Regions from separate parts of the Homo sapiens genome. Here regions 2 and 3 are each linked to region 1. The links are contacts of gene promoters, found by promoter capture Hi-C in blood cells and fetal thymus (Javierre and others, 2016). All regions are on one chromosome and are shown on one strand. Each heading gives the region's core, a stretch centred on a gene start or on the middle of the fragment in contact. The rest is flanking DNA. Distances are from core to core; before and after follow the strand shown.

Evidence for each region. The method cuts DNA at HindIII sites, captures the fragments that hold promoters and counts their contacts. A CHiCAGO score of 5 or more calls a contact.
Region 2: a fragment that was not itself captured here is called in contact with the fragment with the promoter of EGFLAM-AS1 in region 1 in 1 of 17 cell types (naive CD4 T cells); the score reaches 6.1 in naive CD4 T cells.
Region 3: a fragment that was not itself captured here is called in contact with the fragment with the promoter of EGFLAM-AS1 in region 1 in 1 of 17 cell types (non-activated CD4 T cells); the score reaches 9.3 in non-activated CD4 T cells.

The regions. Positions count from the first base shown.
Region 1 is chr5:38,425,710-38,429,206 of GRCh38, reverse strand. It overlaps EGFLAM-AS1 (EGFLAM antisense RNA 1), which reads left to right and starts at 1,831. Exons shown (of 2, transcript NR_046737.1): 1 at 1,831-2,115. EGFLAM (EGF like, fibronectin type III and laminin G domains) reads right to left here. Exons shown (of 22, transcript NM_152403.4): 14 at 1,955-2,198. RefSeq lists an enhancer at 1,410-2,609. The HindIII fragment of the contact is 14,108 bases long and covers 1-3,497 here.
Region 2 is chr5:39,568,204-39,571,700 of GRCh38, reverse strand. It overlaps the pseudogene CFAP53P1. Among named protein-coding and RNA genes, the nearest start is that of LINC02104, 50 kb to the right of the region's middle. The HindIII fragment of the contact is 6,095 bases long and covers 1-3,497 here.
Region 3 is chr5:39,549,312-39,552,808 of GRCh38, reverse strand. No RefSeq gene overlaps it. Among named protein-coding and RNA genes, the nearest start is that of LINC02104, 31 kb to the right of the region's middle. The HindIII fragment of the contact is 6,628 bases long and covers 1-3,497 here.

The sequences.
Region 1 (3,497 bases), core at 582-3,081:
TCCTTTTATCGATCACAGCCATCAAGAACTCATTCCAATTGTCGTGATTTTTTAATCAAGTTCATAATGAATTTGCCCATCTTATCCTATTCCTAAAGTTAAAATGATCTGGCCAATTCCACAACTTCCTGTAGTTTGAGTTTTCACTGCATTGTCTTAATTGAGCAAGAAGTCTTTGAAATGGTTTTCAAAATAAACAGCTTCCAATGGGGCATCTGAAACACCAAGAGTAATCACTGTTGTTAGCTTACGCTCAGGAGGGGATAGGATAAGGGGGCAGATGGTGGTTTGTCCCTCAGAAACTCTTGCCTCATTTTCATCACCTAATTCTTAAAAATTCTTTTTCCAGTTGCCTTTGCTGACAGGCAGTGAAACAATAACTTAGTAAATTTACAAAAAAAAATTAAAAGCACCTCGTGTCAAAAATAAGCACAGAGTTATGAAAGAGAGAAATGCTGGACTTCTAAGGGTTCCATGTGCTTGTGACCCCACAGCTGGAGCTGCCACTGCAGAGAGGCAGTGTGGAGGGGGTAGTCTGTCCAGGAGGAGGGCTGATGAGCCCAGAACCTCTCCTGGATCTTTCTGGTCATTCCCTATCCAGGAAGAAAACCATTTAAAAGTGCAAGGTGATATTCAAGGTGTCTTCCTTTGTCAACTTGACATACAGTTCTAAGTGAATTGCTTAGGCTATTTTGCATAATCATATGTAAATTGAATCAATTAAATCCCCACCAAAGTTGTCTTGAAATATAGGATGTTTTTGCATAACCAGAGGTACAACAATATTTGTCCGTTCCCCTAGAGGGGAAGGTGTCACTGATGTGCAGGAATTCAGCCACAAGGACAAAAACAAACCATCCTTTTTAAGAACTGTTAAAACCTAATGCAGTGAGCATTTTCTATCAGCCAGGAAAAATGATCAGTAGTTAAGGGCAATGCATGGTTGTAGCATCTCACCTACATACTCTTTTTAAACATGACAGTCTAGCAATATGGATAAAGATTGAAAACAGTTTGCAATATTCTTTGAAACAACAGACTAACTGATACCCTGTTACAGGGCACCATGGAGCAAAACATCCTAGTGAGTTTCAAAAAAGACGAATTAGACAAATGTAGGAACAAGAAGCATGTCTGCATGCGATTAGTGGCCCCTCTGGCTTGAAGGTTAAAACTACCATCAACACAATAAAAAGATGGGAGACATAAACAAATAAAAGCGTCTGCATCTACCAACTACAGGCTCCAAGGAACAATCGACCTGCTAAGTAATTTAATAGTACAAACTAGATAACAGTAGGAAAGTTTTGACTACTTACACCAATTCTGCAAATACCAGCAAGTACTGCAGAAGCACCCATTTCCTGCTATGCTATTGAAACCACTCATCACACATCTTTCTTGAGCATATTGCTTAGGGAACGGGTCTCTGCATTGCTGATGATTCACTGTCAATTTCCATTAAAGAAATAGTTCAAGAGGAAAGTGAATATTTAGAGTGAGGTCATCAAGGATATTTTTGTTCAAAAATATTTGTTAATACTTTTTTACTAGTTGACATGTATTTGCTGGGTGCCCATCATGTGATGCTCTGTATGAGATGCTGACTAGTTACAGTTCATCAAGTTTCTGCGGATGACATGACATAACTTTAGGTGGAAATGGAGGCAGTTTACCTCCACCTGAAGCAAGTCCATTTTCCATAGTTTGAAGCATACAATTGCTACCTGTTGGGTAGTTATTTGAGAAAAGGAAGCCTTGTGGGCAGGAGAGCACTCTCTATAGGAAGCCTGTCATCTGCCTGAAGCAGGACAAGTCAGGACAAGTTTCAGAAGATAAGCATGTAGAGAAGACAGGATGAGTGTGAGCTGTTGAATGGCGATTTGGTTTTTTTCTGAAGCAGTTACTATTTGCCTTTTTAAGGGAAAGAGTCCCAGAAGTTTTCAGCCCTCACCTGAGGACACCGGTCCCAGAGCCACAGTCAAAGCGGAACTCCACGTGGCCCCCTGCCAAGTTGATGGACAGGAAGTCTTTGCTGCCTGTGTCATAGCTGTACAGGAGGACACCATCTCCTGAGTCTGGCCGAAATGTGATCTCAAATTCCATGAAGGAAAGGTAATGCTGGGGCTCCAGTGGCCAGGGAGTTGCAGCGTAAGATCTCAGAGACTCTCTGAACTGAGGAATGGTCAAGGTGAAAGCTGAAAAAACAAGCATGGTGTTAGAAATCCCTCTGTGGCAGAAACTGGCCAGATGTGCACCCATAGCTGTGTTCTTTCCCTCCTGGGTACAGACCTAAACTACAATTCCCAGCAGCCCTGCAGTTAGGTTGGTGGTGTGACTGAATTCTGGCCAGTAGAACATGGGTGGAAGAATCATAGAGCACCCTAAGTCTGGCCCCTAAAACTTCCCTCCATCCTCCATGCTCTTTCTCTCCTCTCACGTGCTGGCAGGATGCAAGTATCAGTGGAGGACTCTAAGGCCCTAGAAGAGCCATTAGATGGAAGGAAACTGTGTCCCTGTATAACTGTGTGGAGCAGAACCCCCTCTCTCACCACCATCTTTGACCTGCAGTGATTTTGTAATATGAGCAAGAACCAGCCTTGATTATGTAAGGCTACTGAAATATGAGCTGGTATGTAACAGCATTGGCTTACCCTGACTCACATGCCCTCTTTTAGGTGACATGAGATTTGAGATCACAAAAGTTTTCCCCAATATGGTATCTTAGGTCCAAATCTGAATTAGGGAAGAATTTGACTAGTTTTGTGATCTTAGCCTCAGTTTTATTTTCTTTTTATTTTAATTTCAGAATTCTGCAAAAATGATTTTCCAAAATCACTTTTGGAACCCTCCATGATTTTCCAAAATCTTTGAAATTTTCTGTTATTATTTGCCTGTGTGAGCGCACATATGTGTATTTGTGTGCATGTGTTTCCATGTTTATATACACATGTGTGTGCATGTATATATATTTACATACTCTCTGTATATACAGTATTAAAATGTGGCATAATTTAGTAGAACAGTACAAAAAAAGGTTACTTTTGTCCCATCACATTGTTAACGTTTCTGTGTCTACCTTCCCTATCTTTTTTTTTTTTCCCAAGATGGAGTCTCGCTCTGTCACCCAGATTGGAGTACAGTGGTGCTATCTCGGCTCACTGCAACCTCCGCCTCCTGGGTTCAAGCAATTCTCCTGCCTCAGCCTCCCGAGTAGCTGGGATTACAGCTGTGCACCACCACACCCAGCTAATTTTTGTATTTTTAGTAGAAACGGAGTTTCACCACGTTGGCCTCGTGATCCGCCCACCTCGGCCTCCCAGAGTGCTGGGATTATAGGCGTGAGCCACTGCGCCTGGCCTCATCTTCCCAATCTTTTATCAGAAATTGACAGAAATTCTAAAGAGCATGAGCCTGAGCTTTAAAGGCTTTGAATTCAGTCTGATACAAACCATACCAATACAGGCTTTTTAAAAGTTATTCAAGGGCCAAGAGGA
Region 2 (3,497 bases), core at 287-2,786, 1.1 Mb before region 1:
GCAGTGGTTTAGCTTAGGAGTATAAGAGACAACTGCAAACGCAAATATTCCACCAGCAGCAGGCCCGGGAAGCAGAGAAGAAAGAGGAACACTGAGTGTTTGAAGCAGGGATAACAGCAAACAGGATTTGCCAGGACAAAATTCAGGAGATACCAAGCACCTATCAAGTGCTATCCAGAAATACTCATTTTATGTGGGAAGTATGCCCTAATAGGCTTCCAGCATAGTTTCTTGAACATTAATATATTTTTCCTCATCCTGGTGTGGTCCCACAGGCTGTCTGGTACTATTATTATTAGGAGGGAGATACCTTAGAATTGGCAGGCCTATCTCCCAGGCAATTGTAAATTGTCAGACAAAGAAGATATGTTTCATTTTGTTGATGACAACAAGCCAACCAGCTGCAATCCTGGAATTAATGGATGGGGAGAGGAGTCACAAGATTCTCGGGCTCCTCCCAGATCTTGAGATAAAAGAAAGGTTCACCTCAGCATGTCACAACTCTTTAGACTATGGAAGACCCTCCTAGGGTCACTGAGGTGCTGGCCTGGGCAGCTGGTTGACCTTCTCAAGCATCTGGAGTATCCTTGGATTTTCCACCAGGCTCCCCCAGATGTACTGGTCTCTTGTCAGGTCTAGGATGTTTCAGCTCCCCTATCCCAGAGCCTTATAAGGAAAATCATTTCGCTGCTCCTAGACTGTCTCAGGAGCACTTGGAGCTTTGGTTTGCAGATAGGATCTCCTCTCTTTTCTGACTCTATGATTGGCAAACAACTCCTTTCCTCTTTTCTGCCCCAAGCATATGCAAACTGACACATCTGCCCAGTGATGACCTTAGGAGAAGAAAGGAGTCAAGCACCTATACTTAGGTTTGAAAACTATTTATTAGATTTTTGATTTTATAAAGTTTTACTTCTTTCTCATTACATTATAAGCTCTTTGAGACTAGGCACTTTATCTTTTAATTCTCTCTTATCCACTTTTATCATGCTAGTCAGTTAAAATTTGAAATTCAATAAATATCTTCTGCTCCCAAAATTCACATTAGAACACTTTTACAAACAATTCCAAGTGATACCGCTAGATGGAGGACTTGATATAGTTCCTCCGCCTAAGAAAAGCAAAGCAAAACTCTTATGAGGTGACTCTGAGATTTCCAGATCTGAATTTTTATTGCATGTTAAATTTAGTAAGGATCCCCTCATTTGAAAGAGGTAGGTAAAATTCTCACTTAGGCCTTAAGAAATTGTTCTATGAGTGAAGGAGAGAACGAGTAACTTCCCAGCCCACACCTCACAGCATTAGCAAAGTAAAATGTTTATTTCAGAAAGTGAGAATAGATATCAGGAAGGGGTGGCGGGGTGGGGAGAAGACACTATGCTTAAAAAAAATAGGTTCTTCCTCCAAGAGTTTATCATCTGGGGTTTTTATTTAAAGTTTTTCTCAGATGCTATTTTGCTATTTGTTAAATGCCATTAAAAGAGAGAGAGAGAGACAGTAAGAGGGAGAGAGAGACAAAAGTCAGTCCCTATTCTGCCTCCAGGAAGTGCTGGGAAACTTGCAATGCTTCATTGACCTTGGCTGTCCACCTTATTCCACTGAAATAGCCAGGTGATTTTCTCTAAGTGTAAATGCCTGGAACTCTTTTGTGGATGCTAATAGGTAAGAGGAAACTGCTCACTGTGACCACTTTTCAAGGGTCAAAAGTCAACGTTCACATTAGCTTTGTTAAAATACAGTCTGGTGACTTGCTCAATCCAGTATGATGTTGGTTCGTCTTTAGTACTACCCTCGGAGGAAGGTGGAAGAATTAAAAAGAATCCAAGAGGAATTCTTTTTAATCAGTTTTTAAAATTGCCTTCATTCGACACTGAACAGAAACTCAGAGAACTTCAATACATGCTTCATTTTGGAGCAAAAAGATATAGTGACTCAGATTAAATGAAAGTATGTCTTAGATTATCTAACCAAGTAAACAGTATTTGGTTTTGTAAATAAAGCAGTTTGTGAGAGACATACTGACCTATAAGTAGGAGTGATATCCCTTGGTGCAGTTCTCCTGGTTAACCAGGTTTTACAAGCACAGGTTGGCCATGCTTCTTTCTGCAGTTGTCTGCAACCTGGACTTGCCCAAAGCATGGAATCGTATTCACTGGTAAAGACACTAGTTAGGTAGCCACAAGAATATAGTCAGTTTAAATGAGCATTTTTGGCTGGCTGGGCTAGGATGGGACACTGATGCTTCCAGAATTCCCACTATGAGATTGCTTATTGTTGTGCCTTTTCTTGGAAAGAAGAGGCAGGACTGGTGGTTTGTCTGAGACCCTTAGACTACAGGAGGAGTGCTAGAACCTGCCAGAACTGGGTTTCATTCACTCATCCCAAAGAAGATTTTTGGAACAGAATCAGAAGCAGCTAGACCTACTCAACAGAGACTTAGAAAGACCAGAGCTTTTAAAGCTCAGGCAGCAAAGTATGGTAGAGAATTTGGGAGAAGGCTGTTCACTATGTCCCCAAATCAGCAATAATATATGCTGATTACCTGATTGAAACTTTTGGAGATGTCTGGAGACAGAAAGGCATGAGTGTCTTCCTGGGTGATTGGCAGTGACGGTGGTTCCTTTTTCTCAGTCAGCTTTGTGGACAGCTGCTGTGCACAAGCAAGTGAGGAAAATAGAGGAGACGCCACGCCATGTCCAGAAAATGGCCTACTTATGCTCCCTGCATACGTTTTGCCAATTCCTGACAATGGTCACCTTTCTTTCTTGAGTTAATAGGCAAAATAATACATTATTTGTTGAGAACATTCCTTGCGCCAGTCACTTGACATAGATTATTTTTATTTAACTTCACAGTAATCCTATGAAATGCTAATATTACTCCATTTTACAGGTGAGAAAACAGTCCCAGGGAAGGTAAGTACCCAAGGTCCCACAGCTAATAAAAAGTAGCACTAGGATTTAAGCCCAAGCAGTTTGACTCAAAAACTTATGACTGTATCCACTATAATTGACTAATTCCCAAAGTAAAATCCCTCATTTATATCAATGGGTGTTGGATGGAAATGTTATTCTAACCATATCAGATAGTCAAAACAAATAAACAAACAAAAACAAACAAAAAACCACATGTTACAGAAGCAAAGGTATAAGTAGCACAGAGGACAAGATGATTAACTCTGTTCAAGGTAATTTAGGTACCTCGTCAAGGACATACCTGCAAGAAAATGAATGAGATGTGTGTCAGACACATAGGACTAGAGAAGAGGGTCCAGGCAGAAGGAGCAGCGTGTGCAAAGGCCAGCAGCACTGAATAGCATGAAGTGTTTGTGTAACTGGCAGCAGAATGGTTTAGTTGGAATGTAAGCCATAGGCAAGGAAATAAAGCTGGCCAATTAGGCAAGATTTAGATCTGATCACATGGGGCTTCAGTGTGATGTATTCTCAGAGGTTTGGAGGTTTTATCCTATGGATGACACCAACTAACTGAAAGATTCT
Region 3 (3,497 bases), core at 253-2,752, 1.1 Mb before region 1:
CTACTCATCTGACAAAGGGCTAATATCCAGAATCTACAATGAACTCAAACAAATTTACAAGAAAAAACAAACAACCCCATCAAAAAGTGGGTGAAGGATATGAACAGACACTTCTCAAAAGAAGACATTTATGCAGCCAAAAAACACATGAAAAAATGCTCATCATCACTGGCCATCAGAGAAATGCAAATCAAGACTGTGTTTTATAGCAAGCAATTTGGAGTCTCTTAAACCTAAGAATGACCAAATATGTCATGATGACTGACAGAGTTCTCTTCCAAAGGCAGAAAAAAAATCATCCTCCAATGAATTAATCTTAAGGTAGCAGTGGTGGGGGAGGGAAATGCTTTTTAATTACAGGTCCATTAACTATGGTTGTTTGTTGTACCAGTCAATTGCTCCTAAGATACAGAGTTGATCCCACAGCCACCACAATGTCCAGGGCAGGTTTTCACCTGGAGCTACAAAGTATAATTCCACATACTGTGGGCAGGAGTAGCGTGATTAATGAAAGGAATGATAAAGGGTTTGAGGTATGGCTGCTTGTTTGTTCGTGTCTTTTAGTTTTCCATTGCAGAAGATTCTTGCAGGTTATATTCACCCTGGAAAGTCTTTTGATCTCACCACATGCCAGCATTTTACATAAACACCATCCACAGTAGTAGAAAGAAGCCCATCTTGAGTATTGATTCCCTACACACACACACACATGACATATATATGTGAGAGGAAAGGAAGGAGGATGTAGGAAGAGTCTCAGGCTACACTGCAATTCCAAGGAATGTTCAGCCAAGTAAATGGGGAATCTTCAAGTCAAAGCCATCTTTTGATGGGCCCCATATCTCACAGTTATGGTCTGCATTGGTACCACTGTACCCCCACTGGTACGTGTGTGTGTGTGTGTGTGTGTGTGTGTGTGTGTGTGTGCTTTTGGGGGACAGGAGACTGGTTTAAGTCTCCTTTCAAAATATTAACTATTTATTTACTTCTCTAAGTAAATCCATTCACAACTTCTCACTACAGAGTAAGAAAAAAAAAAGAAAATCTTTTTTTTTTTTTGAGACAGAGTCTTACTCTGTCACCAGGCTGGAGTGCAGTGACTCAGTCTCAGTTCACTGCAACCTCCGCCTCCTGGGTTCAAGCAATTCTCCTGCCTCAGCCTCCCAAGTAGCTGGGACTACAGGCGTATGCCACCACACCCAGCTAATTTTTGTATTTTTAGTAGAGACAGGGTTTCACCGTGTTGGCCAGGACGGTCTTGATCTCTTGACCTCATGATCCACCCACCTCAGCATCCCAAAGTGCTGGTATTACAGGTGTGAGCCACTGCACCTGGCCAAAAAAGAAGACTTTCTTAGGAGAAAATGGGATATGCCTTTACAGAACCAAAAGAATAGGCATAATGTGACCGACTGTATGATTAGAAACAAATCATCTATTAGACTCAGCAGGAAATAGAACTGGAATAATGGCTGAAGGATTATAGAAAAAAATATATGAGAGCCTTGTTTCTTTAGGGTGTTAGGAAGCTCTCCTAATGAACTATTTTATTCATAAAATATTTTAGAATATTTTAACAGAACAATAAATAGTAGTCATCTGGAAAAAAAAATCAGTTCTATTCCTTGGCCCACAGATAGAAAAAGAACTTGTGTGCAATGCAGGCCATTCCTATGAGACATGGAATCTTCCAGAACTACAGAAAAGATTGTCAATTTCTGAGTCCAACAAAAACAGAGTGGCATTAATTATTGTCATCTCAGATTTTCACCTTCTCACAGCAACACCATAGTATGCTTACTTATTCATACACTCAACCAATGCCGATTTGAAAGTCACATGACAGTTCAGAGGATGGACCCTGGCTCTATCCCATTACTACCTGAGTGATGGTAACAAAGTCACTTAATCTCTCTAGGTCTCAGTTTCCTTACTTTAAAACGAGAATGATAATAGTCCTGACCTCATAGGATTTTTGTGAAGATTTAATGAACTAATGTAGGTGTGGTGGCCATGCTGTGAGAGCATAATTGATTAACAACCCCAACTACTGTTCTTTTCGCCATCATATTCCCACAGGGCTGCTCATGGCCAATGATCAAACATAGTGGGGCTACCAATGCAGACCGCTGCTGTGAGATATGGGGCCCCTCAAAAGATGGCTTTGGCTTGAAGATTCCCCATTGGCTTGTCTGAACATTCCTTGAAATTGCATTGCAGCTGGAGACTCTTTCTACCTAATCCTCCTTCCTTCCCTCTCTTCTGCCACAGGTGTCAGACCATCACTGTGGTATGAAGCATCCTGACACTTTCTGCTACTCCCTCCTGTTTTATTCTCCACAGGCTTTCATCCAACCCTAATACATTTTTTTTTCATTTTGTCCCATCAAGATGTATCCAAAGTAACACAATAGGTAAAACCAACATCTGATATGTAATAAGTTCTCAATAAAAACTATTGTTTATTATTATTAACAAATAGAATGAGAGCTGGTATAAACATGGGATGCCTGGAGAAATTCAGAGGAAGAAAATGTTATTTCAAACCAAGCATTCAGAAAGATTTTATGTATGAGATAGATTTTGAGCTAGCTGGAAAGATCTCTGAAGTGGGGTCTATTGAATATCGGGGAGGAGCAATTTCAGCTAGGAGAATAATAAAAGCAGAAACATGAAGGAGGGGTAATAGAAATGCTTCCAGATTGGCTGGAGTGTAGGGTACATGTGCAGTTGTAGTTCCATATAAGTCTAGATAAGTAGGTTGGGGATGGACTATGGAGGGAGATTTATATTAGTCAATTTTGCTATCATAATAAGTAAACCTGAAATCTCAGTGGTTTATGACAAAAGATATTTTTTTCTCATTTGTATTATATGTTGGTGAGTATGGATCAGCTGCTATGATTCTGTTTCATGTGACTTCTCATCTTAGCCTGTGACCCGGGCTGAAGGAGCAGTCCCTGATTTGGGAAACATGGTTTCCTAAGGAAAAGGACTGGCAGAAATACAGGAAAAGGGCTGGTTTTTGAAACTTCTGCTGGAAACAAGCCATATGTCATATCTGCTCATAATCCACTGGCCACATGGCCAAGCCTGACATCAAAAGAATACACCTGCCAATAGAAAAGTCACATTGTGATGGATGGGGATATATTCTCCTCTTAGGGAAGAGGGCTAAATCATTAGTAACTATAAATCAATCTACCACCAGTAAGAAGTTGACCAATGTGAACACTTGATATTTTTTAGTAGGCCGGTGACACCATCGCGGTTGTCTTTTGACATAGAGATGAATCTGGAATGTGAAAGTGGAAAGAATACTACTACTACGTGGTTCAGGCAGAAGATGATGGCAGGCCTGGCTAAAGCACTGACAGCAGGAACTTATTTGTACCCTTTCCCCAGGAACCTAACATTCCAGTCTTTATTATAAAATCTTCATAAGCAAATGGGGAAGAAAATAACATGTTAAGACTAAGCACAATTGAATCACTTTA